3 separate regions of the Homo sapiens genome follow, and all the other regions are linked to region 1. The links are contacts of gene promoters, found by promoter capture Hi-C in blood cells and fetal thymus (Javierre and others, 2016). All regions are on one chromosome and are shown on one strand. Each heading gives the region's core, a stretch centred on a gene start or on the middle of the fragment in contact. The rest is flanking DNA. Distances are from core to core; before and after follow the strand shown. Region 1 holds the start of SLC36A3 (solute carrier family 36 member 3). Region 2 has its middle 26 kb from the start of FAT2. Region 3 holds the start of LOC124901116 (a long non-coding RNA gene).

Region 1 (3,479 bases), core at 80-2,579:
GTAAAATCCAAAGTTGTTACAATAGCCTACAAGATCCTGCCCACCCACTCCATCCCGCTTTCATTACCTCTTTAACCACATCTCTGGTGTGACCATGTAATTATCATCCAAACCAGGATATCTCTTTTTATTTTATTTTATTTTTTTTTTGAGATGGAATTTTGTTCTTGTCACCCAGGCTGGAGTGCAATGGTGCGATCTCCGCTCACTGCAACCTCCACCTCCCAGGTTCAAGTGATTCTCCTGCCTCAGCCTCCCAAGTAGCTGGAACTATAGGTACATGCTACCAAGCTCGGCTAATGTTTATATTTTTAGTAGAGATGGGGTTTTACCATGTTGGCCACGCTGGTCTCTAACTCCTGACCTCAGGTGATCTGCCCACCTCGGCCTCCCAAATTGCTGGGATTTTAGGTGTGAGCCACTGAGCGTGGCCTATTTTATTTCATTTTTAGGGTGGTTTCCCAGGCTGGCCTCAATCGATCTTCCCATTTCAGCCTCCCGAGTAGTTGGGTCTACAAGTGTGCACCACCTCGCTCAGCTGCAGGATACTTTTAATAATGAAGGGAGGCACCATTAGTAATTATGCCAGGGCAATAGGCACAAACCAGGCGAATCCATTCTCCTCTGTGTGCTCCCAGATAGCCATATGACCTCATTGCCATTCCTAAAACACCCCAGGCACTCTCCTGCCTCAGGACCTTTGCACTTCTTGCCCCTCTGCTAGGAGTTTCTTACCCAAGACCTACATGAGTTGTGTTCCCTCATCTTGTTCAGCCCTTTGCCCAAATGTCACTTTCTAGGTGAGGCCCTCTCTGATCACCCAATCTAAAATTGCGACCCTCCCCCTAGCTGAAACTCTCCATTACCCTTGCCTGGATTTTCTCTATACCGCTTTTTACTAACAGATACTTGATATATTTGTTTCGTTTATTGTCTGTCTCCCCCAGCCCCTCCAGATTGTAAATTCCATGAGAACAGAGATTGTAGTAAGTTTTCTACCCTAATATATTCCCAGCATGGAGAACAGTTTCTAGCATATATTAGATGCTCAATAAATATTTTCTGAACAAATGATTTTTTTTAAACATGACCTGCACTCCCTTCCAAATCACTGGCAGGCCATACGCCTCCTGTATAGAAATTCTGAGCAGGTGGCATTTGAACTGGGCCTTACAAGCCACTCTTCACCCCAAACAGGGAACATGGTAGCTGGATTATGTTCTGTTGGGCCACATCTGCATCCCAGGATTCTGCTGCAGCTCATTGGCTGGGCAGCCTCCATTGTGAGGTAGCTCTGGTTTTTTCCTTGCCAAAGACAGACAAGCACTGAGCCTGGCCCCACGTCCAGGCACCAGGACCTCCAATCCAATGGTGTCTTCTTCCTCCCAGTCACACTGTTCACTTTGCCCTACAGCAGCAAGGGCTAAACTAGGAGAGGCCAAAAGCCCAGGCAAGTCCTGGTTGGGCAAGCAATTGCGAGTGAAACTGAGGACCATCCTGACTGAGATGGGTCTTTCATAAGTCCCCCAAGAGCCAGGTGAGGCATCATCAACATCAGCCTCTCCTGCCACCACCGCTTCCCTGATTCATGCACTTCAGGCTTCAGCCAGCAGCACGCATCCTTGGGGTTAGGAGCCAGCATCTCAGGTCAGCAGCCATGGTTTCTCTGGAGAAAGACCCATCAGAGGCTCATTCAGAGCCTTAACCCTGAGCCTCTGCCACCTACCCACCGTGTTGAAGATGTCATTGCTTGGAAGGGACTACAACAGTGAGCTGAACTCCTTGGACAACGGACCTCAGTCACCCTCAGAGAGCAGCAGTAGCATTACTTCAGAGAATGTCCATCCTGCTGGAGAAGCTGGACTATCGTAAGTGGCCGCACCGCCCTTCCAGGCCTGAGGTCAAGCACTGCTGTTTTTGCAACTCTGGACTATGTCTTCCTTCATCTATCTCCTTAACACGCTTATTCCATTAACACGATATGCGTGGATAAAAGATGAAACCTTCAGAATCTAAGGAGGTCAATCCCTGTGGCTCTGGCTACTAGCCCTGTTTCCCAGTTTTTACGAAGAACCCAGCTAGAGCAGCCACCCTCAACATGAGCAGCTTGTCTCCAGGAACAGTTTCCTATCTCAGGCTGTCTGCCCTTTCCTTCCTCCCTTTCTTTCTTCCACAGTCTCTGGCTGCCTTCTTCTCCTCACACATCTGCCATTATTCTCTCTGCCTCTTCTCCCCAACCCCCCATGCCATCCATCCAGAAAACAAAAGGTGCTAACCCCATGTCTCCACCTTTACTGCCCCAAACTCAGACACATGGAACTCTTCTCTCTTTTTTTTTAATTAAATTAAATTTAATTTAATTTTAAGTTCCAGGATACATGTACAGGACATGCGGGTTTGTTACATAGGTAAACGTGTGTCATAGTGGTTTTGCTGTACCTATCAACCCATCACCTAGGTATTAAGCCCCATATACCTTAGCTATTTATCCTGATGCTCTCCCATCCCCTGCCCCCCACCCCCAACCAGCCCCAGTGTTTGTCTTGTTCTCCTCCCTGTGTCCATGTGTTCTCATTGTTCAGCTCCCACTTACAAGTGAGAACATGCAGTGTTTGGTTTTCTGTTCCTTTGTTAGTTTGCGGAGTATACTGGCTTCCGGCTCCATCCATGTCCCTGCAAAGGACATGATTTCAACAGAACTCTTCTTCTAGGACTTACTGTCAATCACACTGCTATCTGGTAATCATCAGATCGGTAACAACTGTGGGCACAAAGAGATTATCGATGACAATCCCCAGTGTTGATAAGGATATCAGGAAATGCCCTCTCTCATCTTTTGGGAAGAATTAAATTGGTATCTTTCTAGATGGCAATGTTACAGGTCAAATCGTAAAATGTCATTTGTATAAAACATACAAATATTTATTTGGCAAATGCTGTCTGAAAGTATACAACTCGTGCACACACACAAAACTGACAGCAGTGGTTGCCTCTGGGGAAGAGAATTTGGAGGCTGAGAGAAAAGAGATTTATATTTGTTTCATAAGGATTTGGATTATTGCGTTTTATCTTTTGAATTTTGTACTGTAAGTATTACAATCTAGTTCTTTAAAGTATAATGAAATATAAATAAATATACCCTTTGATTAATAATACCCCTCTAGGAATTTTTTCTGATGAAATAATAGCACAAGAGTGCATAATTTTTATCAAAGCACTTGTTATAATGTAACCACTCAATGGGTTCACCTTGCCCACTGCCTAGACAGAGACGATTTATCAAGACAGGGGAATTGCAATGGAGAAAGAGTAATTCATGCAGAATCTGCTGTGCAAGAGACTGGAGGTTTTTTTTTTTTTTTTTTAGACGGAGTCTTGCTCTATCGCCCAGGCTGGAGTGCAGTGGCGCGATCTCAGCTCACTGCAAGCTCGAGACCGGAGTTTTATTATCACTCAAATCGGTCTCCCTGAGCATTCGG
Region 2 (3,335 bases), core at 261-2,760, 310 kb before region 1:
AAATGACTCACTCTTTTCTCAGCTGAACAATAGCCTCGGAGAATGTGAACTTAGAGCTCCCAGGGACCACCAGGTGAGGAGAAACTACCTGATAATTAAGTAAATGCAAAGGAAAATAGCCAAAAAGCAGAGAAGGGTGATCTCTTGACAACGCTGTTTGCTCATTTGGCCTCATACTTAGACCTAAGGACAAACTCTCCCTGGATATGAGTCAATTCATTTCTTTTATTGTCTCCTTTTCTTCTTTGGTCCCTTTTTCTTTCTATCCATTTCCTTATTTTTGCTTAAGCAAGTCTGATTTGGGTTTCTGTCACTTGCAATCAAATTCCTTATTAAGACAAAAAAAAAAAAGAAAAATAATAATTACTGGGCAAACAATGTTAGTTACTGACCCAATATCCATTTCTCCTTCTCACTAAAAAAACCCTGGTTGGGAAATGAGAGCAGGGAGAGACAATGTGTTAAGTCCCAGGAGAGATGGAATGGTGGTGAAAGTTAATCACGACATCCCTGTTTCTTGTTTTTCATGATTCTTTGCAGCTGGTGGTGGCCGTGTGACCTAGTTCTAGACTGTGAAACATAGGAGCAATCAGCTAGGAAAGAAAACATATGGGGCTTCTGGGAATGTAGACATAGCCAGCATCACCCCATCTCCTTTCCCCTGCCTTGAAAGTGAGTGTGATGTCTGGAGCTTCAGCAGCAATATTGTGTTTATGAGGCAGAAGCCAAAAGAACTGCAGTGACACCAGCCCTAATATCACTGAGCTACTGAACAAAAGCCAACAGCTGTCTGCCTGTGTGTTTCTTGCAATATAATACAAACAAAAACCTATTTGTTTAAGCCACTGTTAGTGGATTTTCTATTACTTGCAGGTAGCTCAAAGCATTCTTTGAAAATGAGTCAAGTACTTATCTTGCAATGTCATTGATCCAAAACTCAGACTAAAAAAATAGCTAAGAATAAAACAAATATTTACTGAGTAGCTAAGATTACAATCCAGTGTGCTAAGTGCTTAGTTGCATGTAACTTTACATTGAGCTGCAATGACCTTATGAGGCAGATACTACTATTAGTCCCATTTTATAGATTGGAAAACTCAGTCATAGAAATATCTTGCTCAGGGCCATACAGCTAGTAAGTGCTGAAGACAGAAAGGCTTCTGACTAGCCGCAATGGTTTCTACTATGTACTTGACTCATAGGAGAGTCCCTTGCTCAGATATTACATATCCATTTTATACCCAATGCAGACATGTAGTTATCTAATAGATGCACTGTCATAAAGAAGACAGAGAGAGAAGGGCCCCTGGAATAATTGACGGCTGACAGTGTCAATGAGAGAAGATTAAACACAAAAAAGAAAAGCTTTGCCTTTCAGTGAGAGGCAAATAGTCTAAAATATCTTTGCAGCCTTTGAGGACACCTCCGCTTTAAAACTTAATTCAAACGTTAATGTTTTTGTGATGGTCCTGAGTCATCAAGGAAAGATGAAATCATGCTTCGCATCTTGTTTGAAAAGGCAGGGAAGCACCTAGTAGAACTACAGAAGGTTCCCACCTGAAATGGTTACAACGAAAGAAAAGTTTAATGCATTGACCAACACTGCCTCTTCTCTGACCCCCTCCGCAACCCAGCTCTCTGGAAAAATAAGCTTACAGAATCCTTCCTTCCTCCACAGGCCCAGAAGGCCAGGGTATTAGAAGACTGCATTTTTCATCACCATTTCCCCAAGATGTTCCCTTCCCAAGACTGTAAATGTCCTCCAGCCTGTTTTTAGCAAAGGTGATCTGAATTATGATGCCTGGGGGTTACCGACAGGCACTCACAGCAATAGCATGAAGCCCTAACGAACAAGGCCTGGTTGGGACCTCTGCTTGCTGCCTAGCTGGGATCATAAGTAGACAGAGAAGGAGCTGAGAGGGACGATTACATTGATCCAATATCTAGATGGGCAGGGGGCAACTGAATGAAGAACTCTAAGGTAAAAACCACACCATGCTGAGTCTGAGTGTGCCTTTTGATATCCAGAAGTCTGATCTGCTCTTTTATCAGATAGGGAAACTGAGGCCCAGAGAGGGAAAGGACTTACCCAAGATCACAGAGCAAGGTTATGGCAGAGCCCAGAGCTTTTGTGTCTTGACTTCTGACCAGGGCAGAGGGGGACATTGAGCAAAAGCCCCTGAGGGTCAGGAAGATCAGTTCAGACTTGTGTCCTGGAGCTAGGAAGGAATCAACCTGAATGAAGCTCTTCTCTCCACTGGGCCTTTTCTTTGGGACTCCTGGAGCTTCCAGGGAGCTGGTTCAGGTGGGGACGTTTCTGATATATTCATTCAATAAATACATATTGAATGTCTGCTATGTTATCACCATAGTAAGAAAATAAGAAGTGGTGACTGTTCCCCACAGGGTCAACAGTCGAATGTAGTGGTGAAGATTATAGGCACTGGGCTGAGTGTGGTGACTCACACCTGTAATCCCAGCACTTTGGGAGGCTGAGGCAAGTGGATCACTTGACGTCAGGAGTTCGAGACCAGCCTGGCCAACATGGTGAAATCCCGTCTCTACTAAAAATACAAAAAAAAATAGCTGAGCATGGTGGTGCACGCCTGTATTCCCAGCTACTCGGGAGGCTGAGACAGGAGAATCACTTGAACCTGGGAGGCAGAAGTTGCAGTGACAGTAAACCAGGGATAGTGGCAGGCACCTGTAATCCCAGCTACTTACGAGGCTGAGGTAGGAGAATCGTTTGAAACGGGGAGGCGGAAGTTGCAGTGAGCCAATATTACAACACTGCACTCCAGCCTGGGCAACAGAGCAAGACTCCGTCTCAACAACAACAACAACAACAACAACAACAAAAGATTATAGGTGCTGGAATCATTTGGCCCGGGGCCAAGCATGGGGACACCCTGAGCTACACAGGCAAGGACATCCATACAGACCCTCAGGCAGAACGATGTGCATGTTCACTCACAGTGACACAGGTACTGTACACACAGGCACAAACACATAGACACATGTATAAATGTGTCCACATCAGACACACATATACATATCTCACACAGACACAGGCATATATAGGTACACAACATGTGTATATACACATGCATGTGCGCACACACACAGAACCTTCTTATATTCTCCCCCCATAAGCAAATTGCAGTCTCAGCAATGCTAGAAATGACATCTACATATTCTCCTGGAAAAACAGACTTCCTAAATGCTGCCTGATTCATGACCAGGGGTGCCTGAGTCTCTCCCCCTACATCACCCGCTGCTCTACGCATTTGGTGAGGAGAAGACAGAACGCAGGGTCTGAGCCACTCCTGCCTGAT
Region 3 (3,430 bases), core at 901-3,400, 350 kb before region 1:
TTTCACTAAAAATACTTTTAAAACCTAGGTAGATTTTAGGGGATTGTAATTCAGATGGTCAGAAAGCCATACCTTAAGAAATACTGGCTTGGAGGTAAGAGAGTGAAGAGAGTCACCCACTGCCAAACACATATTAGGTGCCCCCCATACCCAAGAGCTGGGAGAGTTGAGGAAGTTTCTGGGAGGAGATGGGCAGGACCTGGTCTATAGGAGTGGGTAAGATTCAGAGAAGTAGAGGAAATTATGACCACCAGGAAGCAAGCAATCTGTGCAAACAGGAAAATAAGTGCCAGGAGACTCAGGTTGTATCTTGGTCACAGCTGGTGCCCTCCCTGTAAATGACCTCTGGAGTCTGCTATCACTATGCCCTCAGTCAGTACACTGCAGGCATAGTGGCCTCCTTTCTGTTCCTGAAACAGGCCAAAGTCTGTCCTGCCTCCAGGCCTTTGCACTCGCTGTCCCCTCTGGAACTGCACTGTTTCCCCAGCTTTAGTCCTGCCTTTTCTGCACCCTCTGCTTCTCAGTTCAGATGTCTCCTTCTCAGAAAGGCTTTGCTGCCTGCCCCTCTCACTCCCATCTCTCCTTCATACCAATGACCACAAGCTGTAATTATTATCTTGTTTATTTGCTTTTGTTCCCGAACAACTTTCACCCCCTCCCAGTCTGCCCCACCAAACTACAAAATGTAAGTTCCATGAGGACAGAGACCTGGTGTCTTCTGCTCATTGCTGTGTCTCCAGGTCTGAGCACTTGATACATACTAAATGCTGAGCAAGTTGTGTTAAGAAAATGAATTAACTAATGAGAGGTTGGCAAGTCCAGAGTAGAAAAAGCCTGGAACCTAGGGATAGGACAGATGGATACTGGAGTCTGAGAAACCAAAAAGCTTTCAGAAGAACCCTGATGGGGCACAAGAATGGGCATCAGTTTTCTGAATCCGAGAGCACATGGATTTCTGTTCTCATTAGATTGGAGGTCCCAGAGTTATTAGACTCCATACCTCCTTTTAATAATAAATGGAGACATAGATAATGCAGTAGACCTCAAGTCGTAGAGCCATTCGTTGTGATCCTTGATTCATGACTCACTGTCATTGGTTGGTCTTTGCATGACTCTCTTTTGCTTTTATCTATCAGTCGATCAATCAATCTATCTGCTACCTATTTATCTATCAATCATCTATTTACCTATCAATCATCTATATCTGTCATCTATCAATTGTCTATTTATTATCTATATATCTATCTATTTATCATCTAGCCATTATCCATCAACCTGTCTATCTATCTATCTATCTATCATCTATCATCTTTCAAATAATATATTGAACACCCATGAGCCTGCCTCCCCACATGAGAACTGGAACAGTGGCGACACCTATGTTCATTCTCTATCCTGTCCGCTCTGTGACCACTTTCCTGAATTTTGTGTTTATCTTTCCCTTATGGTTTTTTTTTTTTTTTTTTTTTTTACGGAGTTTCACTCTTGTTGCCCAGGCTGGAGTGCAATGACACAATCTCGGCTCTCCGTAACCTCCGCCTCCTGGATTCTCTTGCCTCAGCCTCCCAAGTAGCTGGGATTACAGGCACGTGCCACCATGCCTAGCTAATTTTGTATTTTTAGTAGAGACGGGGTTTCTCCATGTTGGTCAGGCTGGTCTCGAACTCCTGACCTCAGGTGATCCACCTGCCTTGGCCTCCCAAAGTGCTGGGATTACAGGCATGAGCCACTGCGCCTGACCTATCCTTCCCTTATGTTTAACAATTAATATAATTCCCACATTTTCTAGTGATTAGGAAAAAATAATAATAAATATCACAGCAACATAAGCAAAAACACACCCACACATGCACCTGTATATATCTAAGCAATATGTTGTATCATTTTAGGTAATTTTAAAATTTATAACAAATGCTGTGTTTTTACATTGATAAAACACTTATAAATAATGTCCTGAGCCCTGCCCTTTTCACTCAACATTGCATTATGAGTTCAGGCTTATCCATATTGCTGTGTATAGCATATTACATTCATCTGCACTGCTGTATAAGATTTTGTTCGTGTTTGTACCACAATTTATTTATTTTCCTATTTATGAGTGGTTGGGTTTTCTTCTGTCATGAATAACTGCTACACATGCATTTATGAGTTTCTCTGGGGCCTATCTGCTAGGTAAATATACATCTAGGAGCGGAAGGAATTGTGGGGTTGTAGGAGTATCAGTCAGGGTCTAATCAGAAAAAACAGAAACCACTCTATGGATTTTCAGATACTTTTAATTTTGAAATAGTAACAGATTCACGAGAAGTTGCAAAAATAGTACAGAAAAGTACATGTACCTTTCCCCCATTTTCTCCTGATAATAATGTCTTAGATAGCTATAATACAGTATCAAAACCAGGTCACTGGTATTGGCACAATCCACAGACCTTATTCAGATTTCACCAGGGTTACATGCATTTGTTTGAGTATGTACATAGTTCTATGCACACATAAAACTTTATTACACGTAGATTTGTATAACCACCACCACAATCAAGATACAGAACTGTCCCGTCACCACAAAGATCCCTCTGGCTGCTTCTTTTTAGGTACACTGATTTCTTTCTCCAACCCCAACCCTGTCTTTAACCCTTGGCAACCACTAATCTGTTCTTCACCTCAATAATTTTGTCATTTCTAGAAGGTTATGTAAGTGGAATCATATAGTATGTAACAATGTGAGACTGGCTTTTTTAGTTGGTAAAATTCTCTTGTGGTCCGACAAAGTTGTTGCATGTATCAATAGTTTTTTCCTTTTTATTGCTGAGTAGTATGGTAATCAATAGCTGAGAAGCCTCACAGGAGGCAATGAGGCAATCCATAAATTAATAATAGCAGGAAGCTGTTACTACCCCTCCCCAGGACTAGAGAAACAAAAGGTTAGTGTCACCAGAGCCCAGGGCCAGGGTCACCTGGTAGAAGTTAGAATCATGGCTGGCTTTCCTGTGGGAACTGGACCCATCGGAGAGCTGTGGCCACCACAGGGGATGTTACCTGAGAGGAGAAGGGGAGGGTGCTGGTGAGAAACACCTTGGCTTCTCCCTTCTTTCCACCTTCCATTCTCTCTCTTTTATTAACTGAGCCCAACTGGAAGCAAGATGACATGGCTGCCGAGATCCTGCTGGAAAACTGAGGACATAAGGGCATAGCAAAGAGTGGATCTGAGGGCAAACAGACTCAGGACCTGCACAGCAGCCTATGTGAGTGTTTGATTTTGCAAGATAATGCCACACTTTTTCTAAGTGAGTGTCCTATGTCCTAATGCGTACCCTTATAAGCGATATGTAAGAGATCCCATGGATCTGTATGTTCTCCAATACTTGGATTGTCTAGCTATTAACATTTTGCCATTTTAGTGGACATAAAAGCTTATCTTATTGGGTCTTGA

The links. Contacts are between HindIII fragments. The CHiCAGO score rates a contact against its expected background, and 5 or more counts as called.
Region 2: a fragment that was not itself captured here is called in contact with the fragment with the promoter of SLC36A3 in region 1 in 1 of 17 cell types (M1 macrophages); the score reaches 6.3 in M1 macrophages.
Region 3: a contact is called between a fragment that was not itself captured here and the fragment with the promoter of SLC36A3 in region 1, in 2 of 17 cell types (M0 macrophages and M2 macrophages). The highest score is 8.7, in M0 macrophages.

What each region holds. Positions count from the first base shown.
Region 1 is chr5:151,301,616-151,305,094 of GRCh38, reverse strand. It overlaps SLC36A3 (solute carrier family 36 member 3), which reads left to right and starts at 1,329. Exons shown (of 10, transcript NM_181774.4): 1 at 1,329-1,868. The coding sequence starts at 1,741. The HindIII fragment of the contact is 21,144 bases long and covers 1-3,479 here.
Region 2 is chr5:151,615,718-151,619,052 of GRCh38, reverse strand. No RefSeq gene overlaps it. Among named protein-coding and RNA genes, the nearest start is that of FAT2, 26 kb to the right of the region's middle. The HindIII fragment of the contact is 286 bases long and covers 1,368-1,653 here.
Region 3 is chr5:151,654,278-151,657,707 of GRCh38, reverse strand. LOC105378231 (a long non-coding RNA gene) reads right to left here. Exons shown (of 2, transcript XR_944417.3): 2 at 2,259-3,430. LOC124901116 (a long non-coding RNA gene) reads left to right here and starts at 3,203. Exons shown (of 2, transcript XR_007059007.1): 1 at 3,203-3,242. The HindIII fragment of the contact is 2,524 bases long and covers 889-3,412 here.